Regions from separate parts of the Homo sapiens genome. Here region 2 is linked to region 1. The links are contacts of gene promoters, found by promoter capture Hi-C in blood cells and fetal thymus (Javierre and others, 2016). All regions are on one chromosome and are shown on one strand. Each heading gives the region's core, a stretch centred on a gene start or on the middle of the fragment in contact. The rest is flanking DNA. Distances are from core to core; before and after follow the strand shown.

Region 1 (7,423 bases), core at 1,239-3,738:
TGTCATTTGAAATGAATTACTAAAAATCTTTTATTTAGAATGTTTATTCTAGTCTATTATTCTCTGCAATTACCAAGTGTTATTTCCTGACACACACTTTCATGTAAACAATGCACAGAAAAAAACACTGTTTTTGCTGATCATGATACTATGCATCAGTTGGCAAAAATCTGAAATAGATTAATTTTGAAAGCAAGGTCATTGGTTTTTAAAATAAAATGGTATGTACTTTTTATAAGAACCAAATTAAGCAAATTATATCAGTTTTCCTAATACACTGATCAATATAGTACATGTAATATTCCAACAGTTTGTAAATCTTCAGAACCCTTCAAACCCAAGGATTAGAGCATATAGTTTTGTTGTATTTGCTTTGTTCTTTTACTCTTAACCTGAAAATCAAATTTTCTGGGTTTGGTGATGTAGGGGATAAAAAAAAAAGAAATTAGTTAAGACCAACTAAGCCTATGATCTAAACAATTTGAAGCAATAACTTTACATTTGAGAACTTGTAGATGATATGAAACTTTTGTCAGCTATTAAACATATTTTTTAAAGCCCTGCTGATGAAAGATGTAGCTTCCAATGTTTTCTCCAGTAGAGTTAATGAGCTAGATAGAAAATATCTCATTAATTTCTTGAGTCCCCTTGTGAGGCAAGAAAATGACATTCTTATCCAACAGCTGGAAAAGCTGAAGAATTAGTGGATGTAACTGTGCTCAACTGCAAAGGAAAAAAATAGCTTTACTATACCCTGAGATGTGGATATGAAAGAATATTGCATACACATATACCCTCTCCCTTATTTTTAAGGAATCAATATCTGCTTAAAGAATAAGACTAGTTAAAACCCTTGGATCTTGGCCCTATAACTTTTGGCAGAGTATATTACTGCTTCATGGCCTGGCAGTGCAGTGACTCTTTTAATTTACTTTAAAATAGCTTTTCCCTAATCTGTACAACCTAACATCTGACCAATCATGAATCTTCAGCAAACTTAAGCCTCTTATTCCATACATTTTTTAAAACTGTAAAAATTCAGGAAATAACTCTTTGCAAAGTACATTGAAGCATTTATTGGGAAGCAAAAAAGCACAAGTTGAAGTGATTTGTAGTTTCATAAAAACGAATTTGACATTTTACTTAGAAGTTGCAAACCACCACATGGTTTTGAGTTTTGAATTCATTTGCTTTGCAAAAAGTGGAATGTTTTATTTGAATGGAAATGCCCTCAAGTTACTTCCAGCATGGCTGTAGGATTGATTTTTCTAGGTTAAGGGAATGCCAAAGTTTAGTGCCTTGTGTATATTCTTTTCGAAAAAAACAAACTATTATCCATGTATTTAAATGGACGTAGGAAATTCAAGAACAAATCAGGGAAATTTAACATCATTTCAGTATTACCAACATAGGGCTTTGTGTAACGACTGTGACATCAAGATAAGGCTTTACCTCGGCTCATCCAATAGAAATACAGTATGTAAATTAACCCATATTATCTGTATGCTGATTGGCCTGAGTTCCCCTGAATGTCACAATCTCACCACCCAGCAATGAGGTATTTTACTGCTGTCTCAAGATCAGATTATTACTGTAGAGAAGATTTTTATTTTTTGTTTCATTAACAGATTATTATAAAGCAAAAAGCATGCAGAAAAAGAAGCAGACGTTTTACATTGGGAATTAATGAAAGCGTGTCTGCTAGTTTTGGGTAGGAGAACTGGGAAGTTGTTGCTTAAAATTTTATATCACCTCCACAAACAAAACTCTTCGGAAATGGTAAAATAAGAAAATGCATGATTCTAGAGGCATTCCTAAGCACCCACGTGTCAGGCTTTGTGGTGTCTGTGGTATCATCCGACCGTTTGGACTGGTGTAAGTTTTACGTATTTGTTATATTTCTAGTATTTTTCATCTGTAATAACAAAGGGGAAAAAAGGAAACTCGTACACATAACTGCTTTGACATCACCCATCATTGGTCAGCGGAACTTGTAAGAAGGGAAAAGGAATACTGTTGCTTGGTGGGGTGGAATGCCAGGAATAGCCATTTAAACATTTTATAAGCCTGATTCTTTAGTGACATCCTTTAAGGTAGACTGAATGTAAATCATATTGTAGTTGTCCTCTGAACTTAGCTTTCTCCCTACTTTTACGCATATTTGCGTGCATTGGAGAATAGAAGATGACTAACAAAGAGAGAGCTGCCCTAACGTGCCTTCCCTTCTTCCCCATTGAAAAGATTTTTAACTGTGGGAAAAAGATAAATAAATAAATAAATAACTTTTTTTCTTTTTTCCCATTCTTTTCTTGTCTTTTTCCAGCTAACCTGCAAATTTAAAGGTTAGCTGGAGACATCACTTAAAAATAAATATATAAAAGAAGCCTCCGGTGGTTTGGACCACCCTAAAAGAAAAGGGAAGAAAGTGTCTGGGGAAGGTTAGGGTTCCGGGAAGCTGAGGGAGGGGGCGGGCGTCACGGGCACTGTGACTTCCTCGTGCGCTGCCTTTGGGAAGAGGATGGGCCTGAGGTCCTGAAAGGGCCTTTCCAGCCCCCCACTACAAATGCGGGGAGGGAAAAGTTCAGAAGCAGCCACGAAGGGACAAAAGCTTAATGCTGCCAGTTGGATTGGACAGGGCAGTCAATAAACCCAGCCAGCTCTGGAGTCAGGTAGGGGTTCCTGCTGGTTCCACAGAGGCTGAAGCAGCCCCGCCGCCGCCCTCGCCACCGCAGCCGCCGCCGCCGCGGCCCCTGCGTTACTGGGGGAGACGGTGCCGCTGCGACAGGGGAGGACGCGGCTGGAGCTCAAGGAGGCTCCAGCGCGCAGGCGCCGCCGAGCCCTGCCTGGATGCTCAGTCAAGGCACTAAGGCAAAAAAAAAAAAAAAAAAAACAAAAAACAAAAAAAAAAAAAAAAAAAAGAAAAAGAAAAAAAGAAAAAAATCAGCAATTTATAGAAAGAAGCTATAGTCTGTCGGGATATCCAACACCAACAGGTAGGAGGATATACTCTTGGTTAAGTTTGGGGGATGTGGGGGAATGCACAGTGTTGATGAAACTGCAGGTTCACCGAGAAAGAGCCCTCCCTCAGGTTGTGTGTGTGTGTGTGTGTGTGTGTGTCTCTGTGTGTGTGTGTGTGTGTGTGTGTGTATGTGTTTTGTGACAATAAACTGCATAATGGAAGTACATTCAGACAATGCATCTTCAGTAGGGCTTACTGAGAGCTCCATTTCTGGAAAGCCTTACAAGACTGAGGAATATCAGACTGCGAATCACCGGGAACGGTTCCTTTGCAGCACAGAAGCAATCTCTCTCCCCATCTTCGCGTATGTAATGCATGTCTCTCTCCCTCTCCCCCTCCTCCACCCTCCCCCCATTATAAATCCAGGGGTGGCGGATTTCAGGTTTCGTAATGTTGCATGATGCGATCGGTATTTACCCGAGGATGTACCGGTGGGGAAATTAAAATCATCGAACGCAGTTTTGCCTGGGCTTCCACCAGCATATTCCGGGCCAGTGAGAAGTGGCAAAAGAAACACGCTTGGTGGGAATAACAGAGGAAGCCGATTTCCCTGGTGTGGTCCAGGCACCTGCGAGACAATGTGCATTTTGTTTTAAAAAGCAGCCACTTGTGATTTGCAACAAAGGTTATCAGTGTAAATGGGAAAGGCTTAATTGCCCAAGAAATACAGGTTCATGTTATATTCATTTGAATCCAGGCAGCCAAGGTTTACAAATGGAAGTGCATTATTCCTCTGGGTGTGTTTCCCTGTCCAATATTTACATTAACCATTTTAATAATCATGTGGGCTTAAAAGATTTGCCAGAAATGGGGGGTAGGGTGGAGAGGGAAAGACAAATGATTAAATCACATCAAATCTTGGGACAAGTAAGTTCCTATTAATTTTGAAGTTAATTTTGAAATTTTGCTTTAAGATGAATCAACAAATACTCTTATGCAGCATGAATAGTGGCACTTAAGATATATTTTGCACGGGTTCTTTGGACCCACATCAAACAGAGAAGCTGCCTGTGAAACACTGACAGATACTAATAGATCTCAAATAAATGTAGGTAGTGTCTCTGCCTCCTAATAGCAATCTTGTAGATTCCATTGCAATTCTAGTGGTTAATTCCTGGACTGGCATATTTTACAAGAATGGGACATTTTATTCCTTCTCTCCTAAAGTTACCCTATCAAATGTATATTGTCCAAAATAGGGACATTTTAAAATTCACTTAGCTTGAAAAACTAAACAAGCCAATTCTCTGAAATCTCGAGCAAAAATATTTAGTAAAGCAAATATTAGTATTCAAAATTAAAACTTTATTTGCTTCCCCATAAGTGAACAGCTTTGTTAGCACTGTCTGACATCATTGCTTGTTAACTTAAGAACTGATAGGTTTTTTTTTTTTTTTTTTTCAGATATTCTGATGGCAAAACAAGTGGAAGAAAAGAGGAAGCATGACTGCAGATCAGATCAGTTCTCTTTGTGGATTATATTTTCAGTAAAATGTATGGATCTATCTTTTCCTTGTTCTTATATCTAGATCATGAGACTTGACTGAGGCTGTATCCTTATCCTCCATCCATCTATGGCGAACTATAGCCATGCAGCTGACAACATTTTGCAAAATCTCTCGCCTCTAACAGCCTTTCTGAAACTGACTTCCTTGGGTTTCATAATAGGAGTCAGCGTGGTGGGCAACCTCCTGATCTCCATTTTGCTAGTGAAAGATAAGACCTTGCATAGAGCACCTTACTACTTCCTGTTGGATCTTTGCTGTTCAGATATCCTCAGATCTGCAATTTGTTTCCCATTTGTGTTCAACTCTGTCAAAAATGGTTCTACCTGGACTTATGGGACTCTGACTTGCAAAGTGATTGCCTTTCTGGGGGTTTTGTCCTGTTTCCACACTGCTTTCATGCTCTTCTGCATCAGTGTCACCAGATATTTAGCTATCGCCCATCACCGCTTCTATACAAAGAGGCTGACCTTTTGGACGTGTCTGGCTGTGATCTGTATGGTGTGGACTCTGTCTGTGGCCATGGCATTTCCCCCGGTTTTAGACGTGGGCACTTACTCATTCATTAGGGAGGAAGATCAATGCACCTTCCAACACCGCTCCTTCAGGGCTAATGATTCCTTAGGATTTATGCTGCTTCTTGCTCTCATCCTCCTAGCCACACAGCTTGTCTACCTCAAGCTGATATTTTTCGTCCACGATCGAAGAAAAATGAAGCCAGTCCAGTTTGTAGCAGCAGTCAGCCAGAACTGGACTTTTCATGGTCCTGGAGCCAGTGGCCAGGCAGCTGCCAATTGGCTAGCAGGATTTGGAAGGGGTCCCACACCACCCACCTTGCTGGGCATCAGGCAAAATGCAAACACCACAGGCAGAAGAAGGCTATTGGTCTTAGACGAGTTCAAAATGGAGAAAAGAATCAGCAGAATGTTCTATATAATGACTTTTCTGTTTCTAACCTTGTGGGGCCCCTACCTGGTGGCCTGTTATTGGAGAGTTTTTGCAAGAGGGCCTGTAGTACCAGGGGGATTTCTAACAGCTGCTGTCTGGATGAGTTTTGCCCAAGCAGGAATCAATCCTTTTGTCTGCATTTTCTCAAACAGGGAGCTGAGGCGCTGTTTCAGCACAACCCTTCTTTACTGCAGAAAATCCAGGTTACCAAGGGAACCTTACTGTGTTATATGAGGGAGCATCTGTAAATCTTTAGCCTTGTGAAAACTAACCTTCTCTGCTGAGCAATTGTGGCCCATAGCCATATTTTGAGAAGAAATTCAAGAATGGAATCAGCAGTTTTAAGGATTTGGGCAACATTCTGCAGTCTTTGCAATAGTTCACCTATAATCCTATTTTAAATCTCAGAGTGATCCTGCTGACTGCCAGCAAAGGTTTGTAATTAAGAAGGGACTGAACCACTGCCCTAAGTTTCTTTATGTGGTCAAAAACTAGATAATGAAAGTAGCAGGTGCTAAGTATCAGTGCTAAATGCTCTGTATGTCACTACATATGAAAAAACATCAAAAAACAATTAGCATTGGACATCTTAATAAATTAAGTTGACATGAGGTAAATGTGTTGATAAAAACTAATTTTAGAAGTTTGAAGACTTTAAAACATTTCATACTACTATTGTTTTGCAAAGACTAAAATATTTGGGGACTTAAAGTACTGTAATCCACTAAAGACGTGCCAATGAATTATTGGAATATCACACTTTAAAAACCGCCTTGTAAGTTCTGGGGAGCATTCCAAAGCAGTATATTGGTTCCAATTAGAGTTTACTTTTTTTGTATTAATACATTGCTATTTCTAAATACCACTTTCCTCATCTACTAGTAAGATTGCTAGCATTGAACTGTATTATGTGGTTTTTGTTGATTTGGTATAAAGTTTTTCCAATTCATTTATATTTTACAAATGCTAGATATTGGTCTGGGAGGCAACATTAATGGTACCAGCCTGTCACAACTGAGCAGTTCTAATAATGCAGAATAAATACATGTTGCCTTAAAGGGTTATCTAGTATCCTTCATCTTATTTAGCACTGGAGCAAATAGCCAAGGGAAATCAAATCAGTAACTGGTCATGGTCATGCATCTAAAAGTGCATGGAAGATCATTTATTACTTTTTCCTTTTTTCTCACATGGTTTGAAACTTAAAGTGCACATCACTGAAATAATGAGATTTTCTTCTACGGTGTGCTACCCTTTCTAAACTGTTCTAAGAAGCAGGCAGTTGATGTATGTTTATATTTTAAGTCAGCTGTCAAGGGGAGACCACAGCCTTAGTATGACATCCTGCACAATTTGTGAAGCATTTATTCTACTGAAGGCACAGTCTTGTTTATACTTTCTGCACATTCAGTGTATTGGTAATTTAAATTATTTCAGTTTTAACTTGTGAAAGCTTATATTATGATTTCTGGTATTTTAGAAATACATTAGAGTCTGTGAGTCTCATTCTTTAAGATACAGATGTGTGAACTTCAATATAAAGTTGCATTTGCCAAAATTTACCCGTGTAGCCTGTTAATTTTCTTGAAATAAGTTTTACATTTTTGGCACATAACAACTTTTTTTTTAATTTGGGAGGCAAGCACAAACTAGGAAGACTAGCTTTATTATGGTTTTGCTTTTTGATTCTTGTAGCTACTACATTCCAGACTGGAAATGTATGAATGATAATCAACATAATGCTGATAAACTGACATAATATTATCTGTAAAAGCATTATTTGGTAGTTTATTATAATCATCCCTCTATTATTCTTAAATGCCAGTAGTATTTAGAGATGTGTACCTGCTTAGTTAATTGGCTCAGAATTTTAATATAAACATCACACTTTAATTTGGAGCATAGTACCATAGAAATTTGGGGTTCTAAATATACAACTTGTAAGAAGAAT
Region 2 (7,423 bases), core at 1,600-4,099, 490 kb after region 1:
AATAAGGTTGCAACATTTACAGATTACTCCTGTCAACTAAAAAGTGGTTAAAGTGAAAATTACCCAGTCCTGGCAGACATTCATGTGACCTAAGATTTGGTTTTTTTCTTAGGATTTATAACCTCGACAGTTAATTTTGCAGGCCTCTTTTAAAGCCTGTATTTTAGCACAAATTGACATTTAAGCAGCTTTTTAAAGCTCTAGTATAAAAATGTTAACACCGTCTGGGTTTTTTCCTATTAACATCACTTATTATTTATTATCATAGTTAGAGAAGTGAATCATTAATTTTCCCCTTTTCAACATTTTCTTGGGAATTGGAGGCAGTGGAGAAGACAGGACATCCTCAAATTTATTCCCTTCTTTAAAAAGAAAAAAATAAACTACTTAGATTAACATTAAAATCTTTTGTACAAAAAAAAAAAAGACAATGCAAAATGAAGACAAGCCACCAACTGGGAGTTGTAATACATTTAACAAAGGGCTAGTGTCCAGAGTATAGGTATGTTAATATATACAACTACAAATTATTAAGGAAAAGGTAAACTGCCAGTATGAAAATGGGAAGCAATATGAACTAGCAACTTGCAAAAGAGAGAGTTTGAATGGCATATTAAAAGATGCTCAATCTTTCCAGTAATTAGAAAAAATCAGATTAACACAATGAAATGCCATTTTATGCTCATAAGACTGGCAAAGATGTAAATGTCTAAGGGAGGAGGATAGTGCTGTGAATTAGTTTTGTGTGCTCAATATTTGCTGGGCCCTCACTTCCAGTCCAACAGCCACAACACCGTCCAGGCAAATGGCTCCTGGGCTTGGAAGGTGTGAGCTCTGGCCAGTCCTGAAGGAAAGAGGTGAGCCCAAGGAGCACCCAGGGACCCAAGGAGAAAGTCCTAGGAGGAAGAGCAGACCAGTAGCTGAGGCTTCTAGGGAAAAATTGGCCTGTAGAGATCTGTGTTCCCTGGCTAAGGACTGCTATTCTTTCTGTCCCCTGAGGAACTTCAGAGGAGTCATTCAGGTACCCAAATCTTCCTTTCCTAAAAGATGGAAGAATAACACCCTTAGCTGGCATTTTTGGTTTTATTTTGTTTATGGCTTGTATTAATTTTAATTTTATTGTTTAACTCTAAGAGCATAGTGTTTAGCTGATCTGAAGGAATGCACATTTATTACAAAGGGCCACAGAGGAATATCACAGGGGGACATCAGTCACATCACCATAGAGCCCAATCCATTTGGAAAGAAGAATGATAAGACCTGGGTTGACAAATAATGGGAAAGTAGACAGGAGCTCACTACACATGGTTCATACTATCTGTAGTCATATACAAAACATCATCAAAACTGGGAGACATCTTCCATTACAAGATGAAGTCCGTGTATCCTCACTTCCCCAACTATGTTATTATTCAGGAGAGTAGGTATCTTGAAATCTAAAATTGGTCATATATACACACACACACACACACATACACATACACATATGTGTGTGTGTGTGTGTGTGTGTGTGTGTATATATATATATATATATATACACACAAGTTTTGGATAAGGCCAGGCCATTACTTGTTCAATGTCTGAAGCCCAGAAAAATGAGTTAACTCTTGAAAGAAACAACTTTAAACTGTATTGAATTCAGCTGCTTCAATTCAACAAGCCCTGATAGTTGAGACCAAGGATATCAGAGAGGTTTCTAATAGTGTCTGTCTATAATAAAGGAATGGTTCAGCAGGCAGATGAATACCATCTGGGAGCTGCTCAGCTAAGGGAACAATGAGATGCTGAATGGTACTTAGGACCTATTGTGGTATTTAAAGAACACAGTCGAATTCGTCTAATGAAAAACAGATGTGAAGAGACAGTAAAGGCATTTGAGACATTTAAAATCATTTTTCTAAGTAATCCTTGCATTAAAGGAGAAGTTACATCTAAAATTACTAATAAAAATGAGCATCAATGAGAAGACTGCATTTCCTGTCTATGGCATGGGACCAAAGCAATACTCAGTAGAAACGCACAGCCTTAAGTGCATTTTTTAGAAAACAAGACAGACAGAAAATGAATGCGTTAAGCTTTCAACTCATGATGATAATAAAAAGAACAAAACAAAAAATTATAAATGAATTTTAAAAGATAAAAACAGAAATAGATTAAATACAAAATAACCCCTCAAAGGCAGACTGGATTAATTAAGATAAAGTTAGTTCTTTAAAAAGCCCAATAAAACTCAGAAGCCTCTGGCAATTCTCTCCAGACAGAGAAAGAAACAGAGAGAGAGAGAAGAACAGAAATAAGAATGCAAACATAGCCAAGGATGCAAATAATACTTATGAAACCACAAAAGAATCTATCTAATACTTATATCAATAAATCTAAAATTTTAGAGGAAATAATTGTTAGGGATGCATAGATTATTAAAGGAATATCAGAGAAAATGTACAACTGAATAGCCAAATAGCCACAGAAAAGACTTGAAAACATGGTTTTTAAAAACCTACTGTACAAAAAAGGGCATCAGTCCCAGACCATTGTGTGAGTGAGTTCTACAACCTTTAAAGGAAAGATATTTTTTCAAGTTTGACCTAATTCGTTTCAGGGTATTGAATTGATATAAAATTTCCTTATTTTTTCTATAAAGCTAGCACAACACCAAATTGAACAAAGACTATCCAAAATAACCTTTTTCTAAATCTCACATAAGATTATAAAAGGAAAAGTCTTCTTAAAAGATTACAAATCAAAAGTAGCAACATATTACAATAATATATCATAACCAAGTAGAACTTTTTACAAGAATGAAAGGGTGGTTAAATGATTAAATAATAAGAAATGTATTCATTTAATTTCTTATATAAATAAACAAAACCAGAAAATCTATTTGATTCATGCAATAATAGGTGCTGAAAAGGGAGTTGATAAAATTCCAAAACTACTCCTGAAATAAACTCAGTATATTAGTCCAGGTTCTCTGGAGGGACAGGACTAATAGGATAGATGTATATAGGAAAGGGAGCTTATTAGGGGGTATTGACTTACACGATCACAAAGTGAAGTCTCACAATAGGCTGTCTGCAAGGTGAGGAGCCAGGAAGCCATGCCAAGTCCCCAAAACCTCAAAAGTTGAGAAGCCAACAGTGCAGTCTTCAATCTGTGGCTGGAGGCCCGAGAGCCCCTGACAAACCACTGGTGTAAGTCCAAGAGTCCAAAAGCTGAAGAACTTGGAGTCTGATGTCTGAGGGCAGGAAGCATCCAGCACAGGAGAAAGATGAATGCCAGAAGACTCACCCAGTCTAGTCCTTCCACAATCCTCTGTCTGCTTTTATCCTAGCCGCACTGGCAGCTGATTAGATGGTACCCACCCAGATTGAGGGTGACTCTGCCTCTCCCAGTCCACTGACTCAAATGTTAATCTCCTTTGGCAACACCCTCACAGACACACCCAGAAACAATACTTTGCATCCTTCAATCTAAACAAGTTGACCCTAAATATTAACCACCACACTCAATAATCTAGGAATAGCATGAGAATAGGAATAGAATGAAAATAGCATGAGAATTTTTGCACATTGATTTTGTATCCTGTGATTTTGCTGAAGTCACTTATCAGCTTAAGAAGCTTTTAGGCTGAGTTTAAGAAGCTCAACCATTGAGATAACGGGATTTTCTAGATATAGAATCCTGTCATCTGCAAACAAAGATAGTTTGACTTCCTCTTTTCCTATTTGAATACACTTTATTTCTTTTTCTTGCCGATTGCCCTGGCCAGAACTTTCAACACTATGTTGAATAAGAGTGGTGAGAAAGGGCATCCTTGTCTTGTGCTTCTAGAAGGGAAATGCTTCTAGCTTTTGGCCATTCAGTATGGTGATATTGGCTGTAGTTTGTCATATATGGTTCTTATTATTTTGAGGTATGTTCTTTCAATACCTAGTTTATTGAGAGATTTTAACATGAAGGGATGTTGAATTTTATCAAAGGCCTTTTTTGCCTCTATTGAGATAATCATGTGGTTTTTGTCTTTAGTTCTGTTTATGTGATAAGTCATATTTATTGATTTGCACATGTTGAACCAACCTTACATCCTGGGATGAAGCCTACTTGATTGTGGTGGATAGGGTTTTGATATGCTGCTGGATTCAGCTTGCCAGTATTTTGTTGAGGGTTTTTGCATTGATATTCATCAAGGATATTGGCCTGAAGTTTTCTTTTTTATTGTATCTCTGCCAGGTTTTGGTATCAGGATGATGCTGGTCCCTTAGAATGAGTTAGAGAGGAGTCCCTCGTCAATTGTTTGGAATAGTTTCAGTAGGAATGGTACCAGCTCTTCTTTGAACCTCTGGCAGAATTCAGCTGTGCATCCATCTGGACCTGGGCATTTTTTGGTTGGTAGGATATTTATTACTGCCTCAATTTCAGAACTCATTATTGGTCTATTCAGGGATTCAATTTCTTCCTGGTTCAGCCTCGGGAGGGTGTATGTGTCCAGGAATTTATCCATTTCTTCTAGATTTTCTACTTCATTTGCATGGAGGTGTTTATAGTATTCTCTGGTGGTTGTATTTCTGTGGGGTCAGTGGTGATACCCTTCTTATCATTTCTAATTGTGTTTATTTGAGTCTTCTCTCTTTTCTTCTTTATTAGTCTAGCAGTTTATCCATTTTGTTAATTTTTTCAAAAAACCAGCTTGTGGATTCACTTATTTTTTGAAAGTTTTTGTTTGTTTGTTTGTTTTTTGTTGCTCTATCTGCTTCAGTTCAGTTCTGCTATTGGTTATTTCTTGTCTTCTGCTAGCTTCGAGGTTTGTTTGCTCTTGGTTCTCTAGTTCTTTTAGTTGAGATGTTAGGTTGTTAACTTGAGCTCTCTCTAGCTTTTTGATGTAGGCATTTAGTTCTATAAATTTCGCTCTTAACTCTGCTTTAGCTGCTTCCCAGAGATTCTGGTATATGGTATATTTGTTCTCATTAGTTTCAAAGAACTTGATTTCTGCCTTAATTTCATTATTTACCCAAAAGTCATTCAGGAGCAGATTTTTGAATTTCCATGTAGTTGTGTGGTTTGGAGTAAATTTTTTTTTTTTTTTTTTTTTTTTTTTTTTTTGAGACAGAGTCTCGCTCTGTCACCAGGCTGGAGTGCAGTGGCATGATCTCGGCTCACTGCAATCTCTGCCTCAAGCGATTCCCCAGCCTCAGCCTCCCGAGTAGCTGGGACTACAGGCATGCATTACCACACCCAGCTAATTTTTGTATTTTTAGTAGAGACGGGGTTTCACCATGTTGGCCAGGATGGTCTCGATCTCTTTTTTTTTTTTTTTTTTTGAGGTGGAGTCTCACTCTGTCGCCCAGGCTGGAGTGCAGTGGCGTGATCTCAACTCACTGCAAGCTCCACCTCCCAGGTTCACGCCATTCTCCTGCCTCAGCCTCCCAAGTAGCTGGGACTACAGGCGCCTGTCACCACATCTGGCTAATTTTTTTGTATTTTTAGTAGAGATGGGGTTTCACCGTGTTAGCCAGGATGGTCTTGATCTCCTGACCTCGTTATCTGTCCTCCTTGGCCTCCCAAAGTGCTGGGATTACAGGCGTGAGCCACCGCGCCTGGCTGGTCTCGATCTCTTGAACTTGTGATCTGCCTGCCTCGGCCTCCCAAAGTGCAGGAATTACAGGTGTGAGCCACCGAGCCCGGCCTGGAGTCAATTTCTTAATCTTGAGTTCTAATTTGATTACACTGTGGTCTGAGAGACTGTTTGTTATTATTTCAGTTCTTTTGCATTTACTGAGGAGTGTTTTACTTCCAATTATGTGATCAACTTTAGAGTAAGTGCCATGTGGTGATGAGAAAAATGTATATTCTGTTGATTAGGGATGGAGCATTCTGTAGATATCTATCAGGTCCACTTGATCCTGAGCTGAGTTCAGGTCCTGAATATCTTTGTTAATTTTCTGTCTCTATGATCTGTATATTATCAGTGGGGGGTGTTAAAGTCTCCCACTGTTATTGTGTGGAAGTCTGTCTCTTGAAGGTCTCTAAGAACTTGCTTTATGAATCGGGGTGCTCCCATATTGGGTGCATATATATTTAGGATACCTAGTTATTCCTGTTTAATTAAACCCTTTACCATTATGTAATGCCCTTCTTTGTCTTTTTTGTGGTTGCAAGTCTGTTTTGTCAGAAACTAGGATTGTAACTCCTGCTTTTTTCTGTTTTCCATTTGCTTGGCAAATTTTCCTCCATCCCTTTATTTTGAGCCAATGTGTGTCTTTGCACGTGAGATGGGTCTCTTGAATACCTCACACCTATGGATCTTGGCTCTATCCAGCTTGGCACTCTGTGTCTTTTAATTGGGACATTTAGTCCATTTACATTTAAGGTTAATATTGTTTTGTGTGAATTTAATCTTGTCATCATAATGCTAGCTGGTTATTTTGCAGACTTGTTTATGTTGTTGCTTCAGAGTGTCACTGGTCTGTGTACTTCAGTGTGTTTTTATAGTGGCTGGTACAGGTTTTTCCTTTCCATATTTAGTGCTTCCTTCAGGAGCTCTTGCAAGGTAGGCCTAGAGATGATGAATTCTCTCAGCATTTGCTTGTCTGAAAATGATTTTATTTCTCCTCCACTTTTGAAGCTTAGTTTGGCTGGATATGAAATTCTGGGTTAGAAATTCTTTCTTCAAGAATGTTGAATATTGGTCCCCAATCTCTTCTGGCTTGTAGGGTTTCCACTGAGAGGTACACTGTTAATCTGATAGGCTTCCCTTTGTAAGTGACCTGGCCTTTCTGTCTGACTGCCCTTAAGATTTTTTCTTTTATTTTGACTTTGGAGAATGTGATGATTATGTGTCTTGGGGATGATCTTCTCACGGAGTATCTTACTAGGGTTCTAGGCATTTCCTGAATTTGAATGTTGGCCTGTCTTACTAGGTTGGGAAAGTTCTGCTGGATGATATCCTAAAGTATGTTTTCCAACTTGGTTCCATTCTCCCCGTCTCTTTCAGGTACCCCAATCAGTCTTAGATTTGGTCTCTTTACATAATCCCCTATTTCTCGGAGGTTTTATTCATTCCTTTTCATTCTCTTTTCTCTATTTTTGTCTGCCTGTCTTAATTCTGAAAATCAGTCTTCAAGCTCTGAGAGGTTTTCCTCTGCTTGGTCTATTCTGCTGTGAATACTTGTGATTGCACTGTGATGTTCTTGTGTGTTTCTCAGCTCCAATGGGTCAGTTACATTCCTTTCTAAGCTGGCTATTTTGCCTGTCAGCTCCTGTATTATTGCAATTCTTAGCTTCTTTGTGTTGGGTTACAACATGCTTCGTTAACTCAGTGATGTTTGTTATTATCCACATTCTGAAGCTTACTTCTGTCATTTCAGCCATCTCAGCCTTGGCACAGTTCTGAGCCCTTGCTGGAGAGGTGTTGTGGTCATTTGGA

The links. Contacts are between HindIII fragments. The CHiCAGO score rates a contact against its expected background, and 5 or more counts as called.
Region 2: a contact is called between a fragment that was not itself captured here and the fragment with the promoter of GPR85 in region 1, in 1 of 17 cell types (neutrophils). The highest score is 5.9, in neutrophils.

The regions. Positions count from the first base shown.
Region 1 is chr7:113,081,892-113,089,314 of GRCh38, reverse strand. GPR85 (G protein-coupled receptor 85) reads left to right here and starts at 2,488. Exons shown (of 3, transcript NM_001146267.2): 1 at 2,488-2,993; 2 at 3,206-3,323; 3 at 4,424-7,030. The coding sequence starts at 4,594. The coding sequence ends at 5,706. RefSeq lists a silencer at 2,743-2,802. The HindIII fragment of the contact is 6,967 bases long and covers 1-2,610 here.
Region 2 is chr7:112,588,993-112,596,415 of GRCh38, reverse strand. No RefSeq gene overlaps it. Among named protein-coding and RNA genes, the nearest start is that of LINC03076, 25 kb to the left of the region's middle. The HindIII fragment of the contact is 1,544 bases long and covers 2,078-3,621 here.